4 separate regions of the Homo sapiens genome follow, and all the other regions are linked to region 2. The links are contacts of gene promoters, found by promoter capture Hi-C in human tissues and cell types (Jung and others, 2019). All regions are on one chromosome and are shown on one strand. Each heading gives the region's core, a stretch centred on a gene start or on the middle of the fragment in contact. The rest is flanking DNA. Distances are from core to core; before and after follow the strand shown.

Evidence for each region. Contacts are between HindIII fragments. The study calls those that stand out against the background at their distance.
Region 1: a fragment that was not itself captured here is called in contact with the fragment with the promoter of HEPACAM in region 2 in 1 of the 25 tissues and cell types used here (psoas muscle).
Region 3: a fragment that was not itself captured here is called in contact with the fragment with the promoter of HEPACAM in region 2 in 1 of the 25 tissues and cell types used here (H1 embryonic stem cells).
Region 4: a fragment that was not itself captured here is called in contact with the fragment with the promoter of HEPACAM in region 2 in 1 of the 25 tissues and cell types used here (hippocampus).

What each region holds. Positions count from the first base shown.
Region 1 is chr11:126,691,499-126,696,505 of GRCh38, reverse strand. All of the region lies in intron 1 of KIRREL3 (kirre like nephrin family adhesion molecule 3), which reads left to right. Among named protein-coding and RNA genes, the nearest start is that of KIRREL3-AS4, 41 kb to the right of the region's middle. The HindIII fragment of the contact is 3,345 bases long and covers 1,287-4,631 here.
Region 2 is chr11:124,932,440-124,937,452 of GRCh38, reverse strand. HEPACAM (hepatic and glial cell adhesion molecule) reads left to right here and starts at 1,406. Exons shown (of 7, transcript NM_152722.5): 1 at 1,406-1,531. The coding sequence starts at 1,447. All of the region lies in intron 1 of LOC107984406 (a long non-coding RNA gene), which reads right to left. The HindIII fragment of the contact is 7,366 bases long and covers 1-2,401 here.
Region 3 is chr11:125,977,992-125,983,100 of GRCh38, reverse strand. CDON (cell adhesion associated, oncogene regulated) reads left to right here. Exons shown (of 20, transcript NM_001378964.1): 17 at 1,772-2,052; 18 at 4,718-4,797. Among named protein-coding and RNA genes, the nearest start is that of VSIG10L2, 35 kb to the right of the region's middle. The HindIII fragment of the contact is 5,028 bases long and covers 1-4,380 here.
Region 4 is chr11:126,468,849-126,473,571 of GRCh38, reverse strand. KIRREL3 (kirre like nephrin family adhesion molecule 3) reads left to right here. Exons shown (of 17, transcript NM_032531.4): 5 at 106-263. Among named protein-coding and RNA genes, the nearest start is that of KIRREL3-AS1, 73 kb to the left of the region's middle. The HindIII fragment of the contact is 5,277 bases long and covers 716-4,723 here.

The DNA.
Region 1 (5,007 bases), core at 1,710-4,209, 1.8 Mb before region 2:
GAGGCCACATGCCTGCGTACAGCTGTGGGAGTTTGCAGGCTGCATGTGGTATCTCATAGAAGGCTGGGGATTGGGCAAAGGCAGGAGTTAAGGGTAACTTGGAAGTTACAGGATAAGAAATTGGATGGATGATGTCACCATCAACCACACAAGGCAACCAAGGAGGAGAAGGGTCAAAGAAAGGGAGAAGGGTTAATTAAGCAATAAGGAAGCACTAGGCCATCCAGGCTTTTTTTTTTTTTTTTAATTGAGATAGAGTCTCGCTCAGTGGCCCAGGCTGGAGTGGAGTGGCGGGATGTTGGCTCACTGCAACCTCTGCCACTCAGGTTCAAGCAATTCTCATACCTCAGCCTCCCAAGTAGCTGGGACTACAGGCACGTGTCACCATGTCAGGCTAATTTTTTTTGTATTTTTAGTAGAGATGGGGTTTCACCATGTTGGTCAGGCTGGTCTTGAACTCCTGACCTCAGGTAATCCACCCGCCTCAGCCTCCCAAAGTGCTGGGATTACAGGCATAAGCCACCTCGCCCGACTCATCCAGGTTTTCTTAGCAAAGCATATGAGGAGGCAGCAGTGTCAGGGAACTGGGGAGGTTGCCGTAAATTAGAGCTAACCCAACTCTTTCCCCACCAAAAATAAATTTAAAAATAAAGTTTTCCAGGCTGTGGCTCTACGCTGGCCATCAGCTTGCTTGTCTTCATGGGAAAAGGAAGATTCTTCAGGAATCAAACTCCCTCTCCCTGCCTCCTTCCCCTCTCTCAGAGCTCTGTCCCAGCTCCTTCTTGCAATGCAGCAGAGCCCCCAAGACACGAAAGCTCACAGACAGGCAGCCAGACACAGGCAGATGGCCCTTCATCAAGGAATTGGCCCTCGTCATCCTGGAGCAGGAGTCAATGCAGCTGACTCACAAAGGTTTCAGGACAAGGACACACCGGTGTCTCTAGAAGTATTTGCTGAGCCTGGAGAGACAGCGGTGTGGTGAGCAGAGAAGGTGGGGACTTGGGAAATGTGGCAGGGACTAATGCCAACTTTACCAATCACATGGAGCTCAGATGCCACGTGACTTAGAGACTCTTTTTTTTTTTTTTTTTTTTTTTTTGGTAAAGCTAATCCCAATGGCTTTGGGATCTCTGTGAAATGGTACAGTTAAACAATGGAAAAGCACTGGGCCAGGAATTGGGAAACCTGATTGCAGTTCTAACTCAAACACTAACTTTGTGATCTTGGACAAGTTGCTGCTTCCTTTCTCTGAGGCTCAGACCTTCTGATCACACAGATAAGAGAACCCCAAAATACCAATGAATTAGAGCAGGGATTGGCAAACTTTTTCTGTAAAGGGCCAAAAAGTAAATACTTTCGGCTTTGTGGGCCCCACGGTCTCTTTCATAGCTATCCTGCTCTGCCGCTGTAGCAGGAAAGCTGTCATAGATGGCTCGCAGACAGAAGGGGGTGAGGGATGGGTTCCCATAATGCTTTAGCTACCAGAACAGCAGCCCGATTCAGCCAGTTTGCTGACCCCTGCTATAGAGCATTCTAGGCATTGAGACTCGCATCTCATCTCCCAATCAAAGCAAAGGAGTGAGGGAGCCTTCATTCTTTTTGAGTCAAAAGGCATAGGTTAAGAAAATGAAGATAGGTTGGGGACTTACCTGTCTCTTCCAGTCCCCATTCCAGCCACCCTTATAAGGGAGTTTTACATTTAGTGAGCATCTACCTGATACTGAGTAAGCACTCTCATATATATAATGAATTCCATCATCATTATTAACAACAGCCCAGTATTCACCTCTCTGTAGAGAATTTTTTTTAAAAAAGGTGGCTCATAGAAGTCAGTACCTGCCCTAAGGTCACAATGCTTACAGCAGAGCCAGATTAAAGTTTGATTTGTCACCGCCATTCATTCATCCACAAGAGCAGATTCCTCTTTGTGTGAAGGCCTAGTCAGCACCCCCAAACCTGCCCTAGAACAGCATTCCCCACACCCGCCTGGAGCTGATGGAGGCCTGAGCAATCATTCTCCACGCTCGCCCTGCTTCCTCTGCAGTATTTTCCTTCCCCACTTTTAAATGTCACGGAGCGTGATGCTGACACAATCAGACAGAATCCCCAGTCCAGACAGCCCCACAGCCAGGGGAGACACAACTCCGGTGCACGCTCACTAGGATACAATGGAAAAGTGCAATTCACTTTAAATAGATTCCCATAAATAAGCAATAAAACAAGAACAACCATTTGCAGTGAGCATTTCCAAGGTTTGATGAGCTAGGAGTTCGGACTGGGGGAAAAACAAAGAGCCTTTTTCATTATTTCCCCATCCCTGCAATTTTCTTTTACTGCCTGACGACTTTGAAAGGAAAAAAAACGAATGTGGCTCCCTTAGGGATGGAGCCCATGCTCCCATCTCCTGCTGCAACTTGCCAATTCAACTTCCAAGTTGTCCTAGTGTGACTGTGAGCTGTGCCGCTTCCCTCCGCCTCTTCAACCTGTGGCTGCCTGGGCCCCAGCTCCTTCCTCTACTGGCCTGCCCAGACTTCTGGCTTAAGTTTTGAGGGCCCGAGAAGACAAGGTGGGCAGACAGGGGTGGGATCTGGGGAAGGGGCAAGGACTAGGAGGCTGAGCCCGAAGGATCCTGGGTTTTAAAAAGGTGTATCTAGGTGTTCAGCGGAGTGGGGCTGCAGCCCAGGCCAGAGCCTGATTGGAAATGTGTCCGTTTCCACTCACTTTTTCTCTGCTACCAGATGCGACTTTATCACTAGAAGGTAATCCTGCCTCAATTTACATTAATGTAGAAGGCTACATACGCTATCACTGGTGGACAAATGAGATTTTCCCTTCGGAAACTCAGCCTGATTTGAGGCTTCCTCTGACTATGGGTGTGTGTGTGTGTGTGTGTGTGTGGTCACAGGCACTCACATGCATGTGCATACAGATGTAACACACTTATGTGTTCCCCTGCCATGACTTGCACGCTTTTACGGCATGCCGGCAGAGTCTCTTTCTCTCCTTGTTGACTTTCAGATGCATTCTTCATCTCCTGATAGCCAGTTTTTTTGTTGTTTTTTTGTTTGTTTGTTTGTTTGTGTTTGAGACAGAGTCTCACTCTGTCACCCAGGCTGGAGTACAATGGCGCAATCTCAGCTCACTGCAACATCTACCTCCCAGGTTCAAACAATTCTCCTGCCTCAGCCTCCTGAGTAGCTGGGATTACAGGTGCGCGCCACCACGCCCGGCTAATTTTTTTTGTATTTTACTGGAGACAGGGTTTCGCTGTGTTGCCCAGGCTGGTCTCAAACTCCTGATCTCAGGCAGTCTGCCTGCCTTCGCCTCCCAAAGTACTGGGATTACAGGCGTGAGCCACAGTGCCTGGCCCAGCACAGCTGAATTTAACTGCACTCACTCATCTATCTGCAGTCACCTGGAGGGTCACCTAGAGGGTGGCTGGTCTAGGATGGCCTCACATGTCTGTTTTCCAAGGGCGTGAGCAGGAGCATGCAAGCTTCTTGAGGTCTTGGCTCAGCACCAGCACAGCCTCGCTTCCACCACAGGCTATGGGCCAAAGCAAGTCACCAGGCCAGCTCAGATCCAAGGGATGGGAAAGCAGTCTCCACCTGTTGGTGGGAAGAGCTGCAGAGTCACATTGCAAAGCGGGTAGATCCAAGGAGGGGTCACCTGTCCCTAGTAATCAACATCCTACTTTCTGTTTTTTCTATGAATCTGACCATGTTAGACCCTCATAGATGTGAAGTCATACAATATTTGTCCTTTTGTGACTGGCTTGTTTCACTTAGCGTAATGTCTTCAAGGTTCATCTATGTTGTAGCATATGGAAGGTTTTCCTTCCTTTTTAAAGCTGAAGAATATTCCATTGTATGTATATGCTATATTTTGTTTATCCATTCATCATTGATGAATACTTGGGTTGTTTCCACCTCCTTTTTTTTTTTTTTTTTTTTTTTTTTTTGAGACAGAGTCTTGGTCTGTCACCCAGGCTGGAGTGCATTGGTGCAGTCTTAGCTCACTGCAACCTCCGCCTCATGGGTTCAAGTGATCCTCCTGCCTCAGCCTCCTGAGGAGCTGAGACTACAGGTGTGTGCCACCACACCCAGCTAATTTTTGTATTTTTAATAGACGCAGGGTTTCTCCATGTTGGCCAGACTGGTCTCGAACTCCTGACCTCAAGTGATCTTCCTGCCTTGGCTTCCGAAAGTGCTAGGATTACAGGCCTGAACCACCGTGCCCAGCCTATTTCCACCTCTTAGCTATTTATTGTGAATAGTGTGGCTGTGAACGTGGGTGTGCGAATCGACACCCTGCTTTTAATGTTTCTGGATGTCTACTCAGAAGTGGAACTGCTGCATCAGATGGTGGTCCTATTTTTAATTTTTTAAGGAACCTTCATTGTGTTATCCATAGCAGTTGCACCATTTTACAACACCACCAACAGTGCACAAGGGTCCCAATTTCTCCACGCTCTTACCGACATTTGCTATATTCTGGCTTTTCTCTATAGTGGCTATCGTAATGGGTGTGAGGTGATACCTCACTATCATTTCGATTTGCAAATCTCTGATGATTAGTGATGTTTAACATCTTTCCATATGCTTCTTGGCCATTTGTAAATCATCTTTGGAGAAATGTCTATTCAAGTCCTTTTCCCATTTTTTTTAAATCTGGTTATTTGATTTTTTATTGCTGTATTTATGTATTTCTCTTCAGTACTATAATAAACATTCTTTAAATTACCAAACAAACAAGAAAACTAGAGTAGCAACATCAATCTTCAATGCATCCTTTCTCTTCCTCTACCCAAAGTAACTAAGCACTTTCTCGAATCTTATGTTCATCATTGACTTGCTTTCCCTTTTTTCAAACAAAGTTTTACTACTGCTACATATATTTTTTTTAAAAAAAGAAGAATTTTCAGTTTGGATTTATTTTAACCGTCTACAAAGGGTATCATGCAATATGCATTCTTCTGAGACTTTTTGCACTTGAATTCTGCTGCTA
Region 2 (5,013 bases), core at 157-2,656:
AACATTACCTCTTCCAGTGGAAGAAAGGTGCCTTGAGTTGTCTAGGGAAAAGTCATAAACACAGAAATGCAAAAGGAAAAAAGAATCCCCTTTATATATTTCAGAATGTTTTCAGAGAGGTCTGTGAAGTTCAGTGCTTCCCAACTCTTCTCCCTCTGCCGAGGCTCAGAAGGGCTATGTAATAATGCTTCAGTTCTAGAAAGTTGACCTACTCAGGCTTTCTCCAGTATGTAAAAAGAATATTTAGAGAGATAATTGCTGCACTTACAAAACCAAGACCAGGGGTTAGGGATGACCAAGAAGGAAGTTGTGAAGTTTGGTCTCCCAAAAATATAAAGATCCCAGCATGAATGAAAAAAGAAACAAGGCAATTTTTAAAAAGTTTAAAACATCATCTCTGTAACAAAGGATTTGCTAGGTACTCTTCTGTACCAAATCTCCATCAACGCTCCCAACAATTCCCCTCAAGGAAGCTCTTCTTTTCCCCATTTTACAGATGAGAAATTGAAGGCTCAAAGAGGTTGCGAGCCCATCCCAAGATCACAGTTACTAGGCATCCATTCCCTTGGCCGCCCTCATGAAAAGGTGTGAACACATGAATGGGGGTCAGAGTAGAGCTAGAGTGTTTCTCCTCTTCACAGCCTCAAAACAGGAGGGCACAGCTAGGCTGTTAAGCTGGTAACAGAACCCTAGGATGCTGGCTGTTAGGAGATGACCTTCATTTTGCTCAGACATGTTCTAGAAAATTGCCTGAAAGCAGGGGAATGAACAGAGTGGCTTCTGGAAAGAGGTGTCCAGCATCTATGTGATTCTATGATAGAAGAGAAAATTCCAAGCCACGGAAAGACAAGTGTAACAATAATAGAATTCAAGCTGTTTTCCAGTCTTCTTCCTTTGGGATGGAACAGGGGTTTTCCATTTCTTCAGCAGTTGTCTGGAGTCTTTCACTTCCCAGCTTTTTAAAATCTCTTCTCCCTCCCTTTTCAGAGCTTATTGGAGGTCTGTCCTGGCATGTACCCTCCTCCTCAGGGAGAAGGAGTGTTAGGTGGAGACAGGGTAGGTTGGGACACAAAGTCCAGTTAAGTGTGTGTCCCAGCTCAGTGCTCTGAGCCCAGATCCTCATCTCCCTGGGTAGTGAGGCTCAGCACAGACAAGCAACCAACTGCTGGGCTGCCGGTGCCCCCCATGTTGGAACCTGAGTTGGAGATTATCTCCTAAGCAGATACCTGCTTCCAAACTGGGGATGTAGGGCTTGGAAACTAGAAAATGCCAGGTCTGAGGGAGAGGAAAGAACAAGTCCAGCAATACACAGAGCTCTGTGTATTCAGAGGGAAGTTGGCAGGGTTGTGTTCGGGCAGAGAAACTCCGAGTGGTACAAAGGGGACGTGCCCAGAGTGGAGAAATCATGCTAATTGTCTGCACTAGAGCTGGAGAACGCCACCCAAAATGAAGAGAGAAAGGGGAGCCCTGTCCAGAGCCTCCAGGGCCCTGCGCCTTGCTCCTTTTGTCTACCTTCTTCTGATCCAGACAGGTAGGAGGCCAGAGGGTAAGAAAGGGTCTGAAGAAAGGACCCGGGGCTTTTACAGCAGACGGAGGGGAGAGTGGAGGGCCTGAATGCCTTTGGGGCAGGAGTGGGGGAGAGTTCAGCTGCCGTGGGAAACATGTCAGGGAATTCAGGCATTAGCGTTGAACGTATTTCTTTATTTTGTGTGCCTCCCGCGCGGCCCCTACCCCCTTCCCCCAAAAGGCTGCATGACTTTGGAGCTCCCACGGCATTCAGTACATTAGATGGCGGGCACTGGGCCATTTCGTATGGGATGACTTGTTGGCGTGGGCCAGTCTGGCATTCTTTCCAAGGGATTGTGGTGGGGCTTGATGGGTAGGGGTAGGGGAAATTTTCTTTTTATACCTCCCCAGCCCCCGACTCTGGCTTCTCTGTGTGTAAAAGAGTAAGGCAGATGAAAGAAGCTTTGGAGATAATGAGCCTCCTAATGTGGGATAGTCATACCCACCTATCCATAATTCACTCCACTCCATAGCTGCTTACCTCCTCTACCGCCCCCTACCAATCCTTTGAGAAGTGATCTTATTTAAATATACCTATTTATGAGTACATACACATATACACACACACACACACACACAATTACAGAGCACCTAGGAATTCACAACTTAGTGAGGCAAACAGATGTGGAGATCATTTTACTAAACTGCAGGAACTATCATAAGTCAATTATGCAGAGAATGCATAGCAATCAGAGAAAGGTCACCTACCCCATCCAGGAAGCTGGTGCTGGTGGAGGGGGTGTTGGTAGGGTAGGACACAGGGTGTGGGAATATCAGGGGGAGGTTTTCTGGTAGAAGGAATGTGTGCACTGAATTTTAAAAGATGGGGAAAAAAGGTAGGAGTATAAGTGGGTGTTAGGGTTGGGAAATGAGCAAAGGTCAACAGCTTGAAATAACATCAAGTGTTTAGTCAGAGCCCAGCAGTTCATCACTGCTGGAGAGAAAAGCATGAATTGAGTGAGGCAAGAGCTTTGTAAACCAGACTCGTAATCTGGGGATTGAGAGGTGAGGGAATGAGCGGTTTTTAATTTGGGGACTGTCAGGGTTACATGTACCTTTCAGATAGCTTACTCAGTCTGCAGGGGGTCATTCGAGGGGAAACTGGAGGCAAATAAAATAAGAAAGGAAGTTTGTATTCATTTTCTAGGGCTCCTATAACAAAATACCACAAACTGAGTGGCTTAAACAACAGAAATGCATTATCTCAAAGTCGTGGAAGCCAGAAGTGGGAGATCGAGGTGTCAGCAGGGCCATGCTCTCTCTGAAGCTTCTAGGGAGGGCTCTGCCTTAGGGTTCTCTCCTAGCTTCTGGTAATTCCTTGACTTGTGGCAGCATCACTCCAGTCTTGGTATGGCATTCCCCGTGTTTGCATGTCTATGTCCACATTTCCCCTTTTTATAAGGACACATACTAGATTAGGTCCATCCTACTCCAGTATGATCCCTTCTTATTAGATCTGCAGTGACCCCATTGCCAAATAAGTTCACATTCTGAGGTACTTGGGGGTTAGGACTCCAACGTATGAATTTGAGGGGAACACAGGTCAAAAAGCTATTGCAATAGATCAAGAGAGAAATAGGAGAAATAACATGGACTGAAATTATAATAAAGATAGAAGGAATGAGGCATGTTGAGAAAATATTTTAGAGGTAAAGTCAGGAGCTAGTGACCTGTAGGAAGTAGGAGGATTTAGGAAGGGAAGGAGGATTGCTGTGTGAAACCTTAAACAAAAAAAATGAGTATCATACATGTTTAGATTGAAATACTTATGAGGCTTCCGTGTGAAGATGTCACATAGCCTGGAGTTGGGTGGCAGAGAGGTCAGGGTTGGAGAGAGGTATTTGGCAGCCGTTAGCCCATAGGTGAGAGTTAAAACAATAAGAATAGATAATATTACTTAGGAAGGGAAAAACGTGGGATGAAAATGAAACATCATGTAACCTCAAGATTTGTAGAGGAAGCAGAGGAAGAAATGCCCATTAAGGAGACAAAGAGAGAACAGCCAGAGAGACAGAAGGACTAGAAGCCTGTGGTGCTGTCCAGAAAATCAAGGGAGTTGAGAGTTTTCAGGAGTAGATCAATACCATTGAAGTTGTCAAAGAGATCCAATGTGACAAAGACCCAAAAGAGCCCATTGGATAAGGCAATTAAGAGGTTACTGTTGGCTTTGGTGAAATGACAATGAGCTGAAGAAATAATGAGAGCTGAAGGTATGGAGACAGTGAGTTGAGAATAGGAACGACACAAATATACAAAGCAGAGATGGCCCTAAACTCTTTCCGGTCATCAAATGGTAAGGAAAAAAATTATAGAAAGATCACGTCGGTCAGTAAGACTGGGACAAAACAAAAGGTGATCAAGGATATTCTATGTGGAAAAATGTAACTTAGTAAATACACCAAAACATTCTAAATGTGGCCGGGAGCGGTGGCTCATGCTTGTAATCTCAGAACTTTGGGAGGCCTAGGCAGTTGGATTGCTTGAGCCCAGGAGTTCGAGACCAGCCTGAGGAACATGGCGAAACCCCATCTCTACAAAAATGAAAAAATTAGCCAGACCTAGTGGTGCACGCTTGTAATTCCAGCTACTCAGGAGGCTGAGGTGGGAGGATTGCTTGAACCAGGGAGGTCAAGGCTGCAGTGAGCCATGATCACGTCACTGCACTTCAGCCTGGGTAACACCAAGAACCTTTCTCAAAAAAAAAAATTATAATGTAAGTTATGCTAATAGGATATTAGTTAATGACCTATGATAGATAAGAGGTAAGTGCTGGGAGAGGCCATTGTACTGCTGTGGACTAAAGAGTAATAAGAGCTGAGATTCTAGAAGGAATCCCTGCCATCCCTAATATATTATTTAGGAAAATGTTTGCTTCTGGGACCAATAAATTCCAAAATTTAAGTTCCTGGCAGTAACTATGTGATAGCCCATTGTAGTTTCAGACTAGGCCTGGGAAGAGGAAGGACTCTACTCTATGAAGTTTTTCAGGGACCAAGCCAATGGAGCCCTATCAACTTTGACATGTGCTTCCAAAGATCACCATGAGGTGTATCTTCTTTTCTTCCAGGTAGAGAATTTTATTTTATTTTTTTAATGGAGAAACATAAAAGGAAGACTTTGCCAAACAAGGTCTGTAAGTGATACGTATCACTTGCACTAGTTCTCTTTGCTACGACTCAGTCACATGGCCATACTTAACAACAAGGGAAGCTGGCTGGGAAATGTAGTTTTTAGGATTGGCACTCAAGGGGAGACTGGACCATGTGGCCCTGCCTCCCCAAGATTTACCTTAATCTTATACTATGGCAGACACCACCAAGCTAGCCCTGAGGCGTCATGGAGCTACACAGTCTTTAATACTCTGCCCCTGACATGGACAAATGAAGCTTCTCTAAATTCATCATTTTTATTTCCCAATTTTTAAATTCCAATTTATGAAACATTCAA
Region 3 (5,109 bases), core at 617-3,116, 1.0 Mb before region 2:
ACCCCAGCAGGCACTTCCAGTGGCTGTTAGCCAGTTCTCACGCATGCTCCCCTTTTAGTTACCAGTTCTGGGGGAAGAAAGTACTCTGTTTGTATTGAATGATGCCTTCCAAGAGATAGGGGGAGAGATGGTGGCTGCATCAGGCTGAAATGGATGGTGATCATTTGATTTTCTAAGTGGTTTTAATGCCATCGCCTTTAATTGTGTGAGTGCGTGTTGAATCATGAAAAGAGAAGTATTAATCTGAAAGGGATGGTGATCATTTGATTTTCTAAATGGTTTTAATGCCATTGCCTTTAATTGTGTGAGTGCGTGTTGAATCATTAAAAGAGAACATTAATCTGGTCGTCCCAGCCATATTAATCAGATTAAAGTCATCCTACTTTGTGACCTGATAATGTTTAAAAATGGAAAATTCTCATGGTGGTGTTCATTCAGTCATTTATTCAAAAGATAATCATCGTCTTCTGTATACCAGGCACTGTTCTGGACAGTGGAGATGTAATGGTAAATAAAATAAACACCACCTCTGCCCTCTCAAAGTGTGTAGCTTAGTGAGACCACAAGCAGGTGTACTGAGACTACACACCTGGGCGAGAGCACACAGTAATGTGGGCAGCTAAGGAAAGGAGGGACACCTAATCCAGCCTTGGCAAGCTCTCCTACCTTCGAAGAATTTATCCAGACTCCAACAACAAATCCTGTACAGTTTGGACACTCTAGTTTCTAAGAGATACTTTACTTTTTCTAAATATATCTGGTAGATGTGCCTCTGGAAATCAGTTTTGAGGCAGTCATTTGTATGCTTTTAATAGAAGAAAATAGAAGGCTGGGCGGAGTGGCTCACGCCTGTAATCATAGCACTTTGGGAAGCCGAGGTGGGCGGATCACGAGGTCAGGAGATCGAAACCAACCTGGCTAGCACGGTGAAACCCTGTCTCTACTAAAAATACAAAGAATTAGCCGGATGTGGTGGCACGCACAAGCTACTTGGGAGGTTGAAGCAGGAGAATTGCTTGAACCCGGGAGGCAGAGGTTGCAGTGAGCCAAGATCACGCCATTGCACTCCAGCCTGGGCAACAAGAGCGAAACTCCATCTCAAAAAAAAAAAAAAAAAAAAAAAAAAAAAAGAAAATAGAATCACTTTTTGCCTTTGGTACTCCACACCTTCCAAATTGGCTGTAATGACTAAGGAGCTATATGAATGATCAGTGACTGTATATACAACTCCATCCTTTTACTTAACAGAGTTGTTTATTGCTACTTGAAATACCCCACCTAAAGCTAGTCTTTTGTTGTCATTTTATGCAGTTTTTTTCAGCACTTAGAAGTATAATATATAGGAGTTTAAGCACTTTTTCCTAGTATTGCCAGTACTCTGATAGTTTCAGCTTGCCCAATATATTCATTCTCTTTTGAGTAATTTCTCCCTAGGTGATTTTTCTTCCCGTTAACAGAATCATAATTAACTCAGAGTTCACAGCTATCTCTACACTCTATGGAAAATAATAGCAGTAACTTTATTAAAGCATGTCTTACAAGTAGGCTTTAAGTGAACATTTTAAAAATGTTTTTATTTTAGTCTATTTGTAGTTTCGTAGGGGTTTTATCTGTAAGACCTTCTCAGCAAGAAGATTGTCCTTTTTAGTGTCTTACTGTGTGCGTGTGTGCGTGTGTGCGTATGTGCATGTGTGCATGCGTGTGTGCGTATGTGCATGTGTGCGTGCGTGTGTGTGTGTGCGTGTGTGTCTTTTTTGTTCTCTTTTAACAGAATATGACCCACCAGGATATCTCTACCAAGGATCAGATATGAACGGGCAGATGGTGGACTACACCACTCTCTCAGGAGCAAGTCAGATAAATGGAAATGTTCACGGAGGCTTCCTAACCAATGGCGGTCTCAGCAGTGGCTATTCCCACCTTCACCATAAGGTCCCCAATGCAGTCAATGGAATTGTGAATGGGAGCCTAAATGGAGGGCTTTACTCCGGGCACAGCAACTCTCTAACCAGGACACACGTGGATTTTGAACATCCTCATCATCTAGTGAATGTAAGAGACCTAACTATAAATAAAAGCCCCTCTGTCCCTCAGGGTGCCAAGTACTAGAACAGGGACAGCATGCTTGGCTTTGTTCAGTATAGAAACCTCACAAGTTTCCTCGAATGGAAACAGCATGGATCACTGGCAGCCCTTTGATCCAGAGTAGTCTTTGTAAGTTGTTTTCTATTGCCAGGTAATAGTTATGTTCATCAGTTTAGTTTCATTTTAAAATTATTTAACACTGAAAGTGGAATACCAGCAGTGAACAGACTGGAAGTTGTTCTTTAGATGAAATGGAAATACCAAATACTTTAAATTTGATTTATCGAGAGCAGGGTCTTGAAAATGCAAATGCCGAAAAGAGTCAGGCAGATCAGGAAATTGTGGGAGTGAGATGGTAGCACTGGAGGCGATGGCCACCTGGAGAGCACAGACAGTGTCTTCAGGAAGCAGCCGCGGTTTGACACTTACAGTCGTCATGGACTGAGGGCGCAGTGTTGCCAAATTTTCTGATTTTTCAAAACCTCTGTAAATCCAAGTGAAATTGACAGATTTTTACATGCTGGCACCTAATTCAAATTTTTGAAAACATACGTAGGCCATGCCAAACATCTCTGCAGGCCACCGGGTTGTGACTTCTGACCTTTCATGGGCTTCTTTTGTTTGTTTTGCCCAATATGTTTTGTTGTTGTGGCTGGTAAGCTTTTTACATTTTACAATGTTAGTATTCTTTAGCCACACAAAGAGTGATAAACCCTTAAGACAACCTTATTTCAGAGATAACTAGTTGATAGCGTTTAATTTTTGAAATGGTAGTAGAATGACTAGCATATTTTAGACTTACGTGGGGTTCTCTGCACTAGAAAGTTTGATTTATGACATTGTTTGGATGCACATCTATATTACTTTTGATCAAATAGATAATTTGTTTAATTGATGGAATTAAGCATTCAGTTTTTGTCATTGTTCTGATTACAAATAAATTTACCATGACCCACAATGTGCTACAATTTGAAGAAGCTTAGAGTTTTTTTTCCCCCCATCTTCAGTTTATTAAAGATTTATTAAAATCTATTTGGAGAACAAAACTAATATATACTCATATTTTAAAGCTAGAAATTGAATAGCTTTTATGTGACCTAGCTTTTGTATGTTGTGGAAGAAATATTAATTTGCTTTAATGCATCTCATTACTAAAAGAGAATCATGATTTCACTATTTTGTGTGGAAAGATACAGCATGTATTCAGACTTTCTAAGCTTTTTTGGTCACCATTCCTAGTCCAAACTACTACCATTGTCCAAGAAAACTGAAGGAGAGAGCATTAACATTTGAATAGCACACACTGTTTCCATAAGAAGAAAACATAAGGCCCATGTTCGCTTTAGTGTTTGAACACGGAACCTTGGGTTTTTTGAACAATGAATTTCTATTTAAATAATAGGTGCCCCATTTGGTGTACAATGTCAGAAGTTATCTGTGATTCTAAATTATTCGTTTTCTTACTTTTCTGGGTGGGGGAAATAGAGAAATTTTAACAGTGTTAGTGACCCTAAAAATCATTGCACTAACTTCAACGTGTTGAGGGATTCAGAGAATCCGTAAGTCACAACGTTACCCTGCAGGTTGTGAACTTCATTTTCTGAGCCTTTCAGGTTTTCCCTCAGATGGAATATAGTATAGGAGAGTTCTTTCTCTCGATATGTTCTTAATAATTCCTGTTGCTGGTTGGATCAGAAACACTGAAGGAAATTTTCAGGACTTTTGGTTTGCTTAGATTCTGGCTACTGTTATGAAATGAATGGAAATGGAAAGTATTCTAGGAAAAACAATTGCCTGAACTTTTCCTAACCTTGAAGGCCTGCTTTGGGTTTGGGTGCAGTGTGACAGCCTCTCCCACCTTTTATCAAATTCAGTTCTGCTGTTTTTCTTCTGAAAGCAGAATTCTGCCTCTGACTATCAGGCTAGTTTAATTTTTAACTTCATTTTTGAAGAACCTTGCTGTCTGTCAAGTGAACATTTTACAATGAGGTATGTGTTAATCTGGGCATTTTTCTTAATTGCTGGGCAGTTTCCGCCAAAAGCAACATCCAAATATTAACACACCCCCTCCAAGTCATTGCTGGCTGAAGATCTACTCCATCTGGAAAAATATAGCATGCTTTAAAACTTAGCGTTGTCAAGTGAACAGACCTAATTGAAATAATTACAGGAAAATGAAGATGAGTTTATCATGTGACATCATCTACACAGGTTTTACACCCTGTTTCTCCAACTGGTATCACATGAAATTCTTCCCTGACTGCCAAGAAAGGGAAAATGAATGGAGGCTATAACATATAATGTATTTTGAGCCCACTAGATTTGAAGGGAAGTGACTAAACTTTTCCCTTCATTTATTTACCTTTGTCTAGTACAGAAATACGTAGGAAAACATGGCAGTGAAGTTTTTGGAATACAGTTAAATCTAATGCAGAACTCTCATTCACTCCTTTGTGAATATGGGTCAGTGATATTCACAATGACGTTGCTCTGGGAGTTGGTTAGAATATACTGTGTGCCCATTTATGGTTGACATGGCTCATGTGTATTTGTGATTATTTGGCTACTGGTCTGTGAGTACCTTCAGCATTCCTTCTTCTTTTCTTTTTCTCTGACACTCCTTCCTGTCCAGGGTGGTGGAATGTACACGGCCGTGCCTCAGATTGACCCTCTGGAGTGTGTTAACTGCCGAAATTGTCGAAACAACAATAGGTATGTTAATAATGTGTCTGCACAAGCTGTTGTGAATAAGGCATATGCATCCTTTTATTTTTCCCTTCAGCAAAGAAAGTTCTTGGAATTTTACCTAGGATATAAAGTTCAGGATTTGCAATCTTAAATTTAAAGCTGTTACTAATTTTTTGCCTCTGCTTTCCAATTTTTGTCTTTTTGTGCCTCGGTTTCTTCAGCTATATAGAAACCATCTTAAAGGCTCTATTTGTCACTGAAATATTATTATAAGGCTTAATGTTTTTGAAAATTTTAAATTAGAGTCATTCTCTGTTATAAAGACTTTATCTTTTC
Region 4 (4,723 bases), core at 2,105-4,604, 1.5 Mb before region 2:
TGATAATTATTGTTTGTTGCCATCTCCACAAAATCCTCCCAGCCTGCCTGCCGTCCTGCCCGAGGTGGGAGCCTCGGCCTGACCTCACTGCTTCTCTCCCCGCAGTGCCGCCTGATGACCCCGTCATCCTGGGGGGCCCTGTGATCAGCCTGCGTGCGGGGGACCCTCTCAACCTCACCTGCCACGCAGACAATGCCAAGCCTGCAGCCTCCATCATCTGGTTGCGAAAGGGAGAGGTCATCAATGGGGCCACCTACTCCAAGGTGAGGCCTGGAGGGGAGGGGGTGGGTGTGGACGGGCTTCAAGGGGAGTGGGTGGGGAGGGGGCTAGGTGGACAGGGAGTTGATGGGGAGGAGGCTAGGTAAGGAGGGGGCTAAAGGAGCGGGGGCTGGATTAGGAGGGGACTAGGAGGGGTGGAGGTTAAGTAGAGAGGGGGTTAGGCGGGGGGCTAGATGGGGGCCTAAGAGGAGAGGGGCTGGGGGGTTAGGTAGAGAAGAGGATGGTGGGGGCTGGGGAGAGGGGCTGGGGGGGTTAGGTAGAGGGGAGGATAGTGGGGGGCTGGTTGGCAGGGGCTGGGGGTTAGGTAGAGAGGAGGATGGTGGGGGGCTGCTGGGGAGGGGCTGGGCTTAGGTAGAGGGGGGATAATGGGGGCTGGATGGGGAGGGAACCAGCTGCCCTGTCTCTCTGCAGCTGTCCCTCTCTCCTGCCCCTTTTGGTTTCTCTCACTCTTTGTCTCCTTGTATCTTTTTTTGCTCTCTCACTCTGTGTCACTTTTTCTCATTCATGCTGTGGTTCTCCTACTCATTTGTATGTGTGTCCATCCTTTTATCTGACTTGTGCTCTCTCTCTCTCTCTCTCTCTCTCTCTCCTCTATGTCCTAGGGTAACTGCTGGGGAAGACCCTAACAATAGGCCATGGTCAGACGAGGAGACTCAGGGACAGTAGTGGCCAGGTTCTAGGGGTGCAGATAAAATGCAGGATGCAATCACGGTCTGAATGTTTGTGGCTCCCAACATTTCTATGTCAAGATCCTAACCCCCAAGTATGAGGAGGTGGGGCCTTTAGGAGATGATCAGGTCATGGGGGTGGAGCTTCATAAATGGGATCAGTGCCCTTACAAAAAAGAGGCCTGAGGGAGACCCCTTGTCCCTTCCACATTGTGAGGACACAGTGAGAAGAGGGCATCTATGAACCAGGTGTCTGTCCCTCAACAGACAACAAATCTGCGTTGATCTTGGACTTCCCGGCCTCCAGAACAGTGAGAAATAAATGTCTGTGGTTTATAAGCCGCCCAGTTTATATATCTTGTTATAGCAGCCCAGCTGGGCTAAGACAGATGCCCAGTTAAATTTGAGTTTCAGAAAAATAATAACTTTTTAATGTAAGTATCTTCCAAATACTGCATTGGACATACTCACAAGCCATACTTATACTAAAGAAGACAGTCATTATATATCTGAAATTCACATTTAACTGAGTATCCTGTATTTTATTTGCTAAATCTGGCCACTTTCCAGGGCTGCCAGGTGAAGCCGTTTAGGCTCCACCATCTCCAAGGTGCCTGGCTCAGGGGCCAGGGAGGGCTGAAATCCAGCCCATGATCCCTTACCCAACAGCCCTTGCCCTGCTGTGTCTACCAACAGGGGTTCTGGTCTCTAATTCACACACGATACCAAGGGCTGGAAGCACCCTGAACTGGCCCCCGTATTAATTGTGTCTTTAAAATGTTGTGTATTTTATGATGCTTTGACATCTGGGGCCTTGCAGACCCAGGGAAGGACCAGGGTAAGCTAATTCCTGGAGATAGCAAGCAGGCTTTATATCAAAGCAGACCAACCAATCCAGAGCCCAGGCCCCCACAGCCTTTTTTCATCAGGCTCCATAGTCCAGGACATTATACCCCTACCCTAAATCTCCCCAGGGCCACACATCAGACCACCCCTACAGCTCAGGGCCCAGGGAAATTATTCAAGCTATCCAATCCTAAACCTGCTGAGCCACCAACCCTACCTCACCATTCCTTCCTATGAAAGCAAGCCACAACAGAGGCTGTGCCCACACTCTCCCCACACCTCCCACCCCAGCCCCAACTGACCCTGGGGCCTCCCCTTCCTCTGGGAACTATGAGTAGCAAACTGTCTTTTCTTTTTTTCTTTCTTTTTTTATTTTTTATTTATTTTATTTATTTATTTATTTATTTTGAGACAGAGTTTCACTCTTGTTGCCCAGACTGGAGTGCAATGGCGTGATCTCAGCTCACCGCAACCTCCACCTCCTGGGCTCAAGTGATTCTCCTGCCTCAGCCTCCAGAATAGCTGGGATTGCAGGCGTGTGCCATCATGCCCAGCTAATTTTTTTTTCTTTTTTTGTATTTTTAAAAGAGACGGGGTTACTCCATGTTGGTCAGGCTGGTCTCAAACTCCCGACCTCAGGTGATCCACCTGCCTCAGCCTCCCAAAGTGCTGGGATTACAGGACTGAGCCACTGCGCCCGGCCGCAAACTGTCTTTTCAACGGCAGTTGTCTCCTGATCTGTTGGCCTCCCTCTACCTGAATAAAAACAAAATTCTGGGTACATTTTTAAACAGCCCCCACCAAACTCCACTCAACAAAACTGTGCATAGAGTCCCAGATGGGGTTAATGTACCACAGAGCCTCTAAGATGAATGAGGCCTTACAGTATACCTGGGCCAACCTCTTTTGTCTGCAGCTAGAAAATTGAGGCCTGGTGGGGAAGTGACTGTCCTTCTCAGTGGTGGAGTGGGCAGTGCCAGGCCTGGAACCACAATTCCTGACACCCTGGCCTCTGCCCTTGCCCATGCTCCTCCTAGGGCAAGCCGGTCCCCCAAGCTCCGCAGCTGGGGGCCCAGCCTCCAGAACGCCCGCTCGCCTCAGGTCTGAGGGTTTTCCTTGTCCTCAGAGACTGGGGAAATACACGGCCTGGTTCCCCCTACCCACCAGTCCTCTAAGCAATCCTGGAAAGATAAGCAGGGCCTTGGTCATCCGAGGATGTGAGGCAGGCCCGTCCCCACTCTGAGGGTGTGTCTTTCCTGTCCCAAACTGACCACCTGCCAAGAGGTCACTCCAGGGCTGCCGATCAAAGAACCCAGCACCTGGTGCCAGAACCCAGGGCAAACTCCTTCCCTCAGACACAAGTCCAGGGGGAGGGAGGGATGGCTGCCTCTTGGAAGACAAGCCTCTCCCTTATGTCCTGGGCTGAAGCCACCCTGTCCTGTTATGTAATACAAGGATATAACACAGAGAGAGAGTTGTCCAGAGGAGAATGAAAAGGAAGGATAGGGGCTTTCCTTCCAGTCTGAGCACCTGTCCTGTCCCTCCCTGAACTTGGGCCAGCCTGGACCCTAGCAGAGTCAATGTCCTGCAGAGGACACATGCCATCAGGTGGAGAGAGAGGTCAGGGTCACTCTGCTGGACCTGTCCCAGGATCACCTTGAGCTCAACATGTCATCCTTGTCTACATTGTGAAGGCCCCTCGGAGAGCCTGGTACCATACTACTGCACAGCAGGGCGGGGGACCCGATCCATGCTCCTGGGCCTGTGACGGGAACGGCAGCGCCAGGCAGTCGCAGGCCTGGGTTCCAGCTTCCACTGCATAACCTCAGGCAACTCACTCCCTGGGCATCTGTTTCCTCGTCTGCAAAATGAAGGTGTTGGATCAGACGCTCCGGAAGAGAAACAGATTCCTCAGGGGACAGTCACCTCAGATGGTCTCCTGCCCCTCTGTGGCTTGTCCAGGGAGCAGCAGAGGCCTGAGACCCTCAATGTGTCCCTGGACATGAGCATGGGAAGAGGCCCTGTGTCCCAAGGCAAGGCACTTCATTTCTCTGGGCCTCTCCTCCAAACCATGGTCATCCACCATCCTAACTGTCCACCCCACGGCCAGTGGTTCTCATGGAGACCAAAGGGGTGACCAGCAGAGCCCGCACACGTCAGTGGAGCTTCCCCAGGCACGGGGCTGTGTGCCGGGCAGGGAGAAGCTACAAGCCTGTGATGTGGAGTATACCCAGTAGGTTACACAATCCAGGGCTCCTATGGAGCAGGCTCTGGGGGCTGTCCGAGCCAACCCCTCTGCTTCCCCTCCCAGGGACCCAGCCCACCCCCTCCTCCCCCAGGGCTGCAAGGAGCCCTGCCATAGGCCAACAGCACTCCTGACTTCCCCAGAGAGGCTACATATGAGGAGGGGCCAGAGCATCAGCCGCAGAGAGGAAGAGAAGCTGGGAGCACACACAAAATCAGGCAGCCTCCAAGGACCCCAGAAAAGACCCCTCAGGGCAGCCCTGGCTGCTGTCGGGTCTGACGCCCTCAGTGGCTGTCACATGGTGGATGATTATCCCCGTGGGCTCAGGAGCTGGCAGCCTGAATTTGGATCCGGGCTCTGCCACCTTCCAGCTGCGTGACCTCACCTTGCCGTGCCTCCCTGTCCTTGCCATACAATGGGAACGACAGCAGCACCCACTTTAAGGGGTGCTTGTGAGGAGTTGAATGAGAAACACGCCTGGCACATAGCGAGCTTGCAACAAGCACTGCTGTTGGGATTGTCACCCCCTCACTGGATCCACACGGCTGCAAGGTCCACCCCACTATGGACCTCGCGTTTCCCATATGCAGACATCGGTGTCATAGTTAGGCTGGCCACATGGTTCTGAAGGCCTAGCTCAAACCTGGGATCCGTAACATAACATGGTGATGTCACCCTCTGCCTC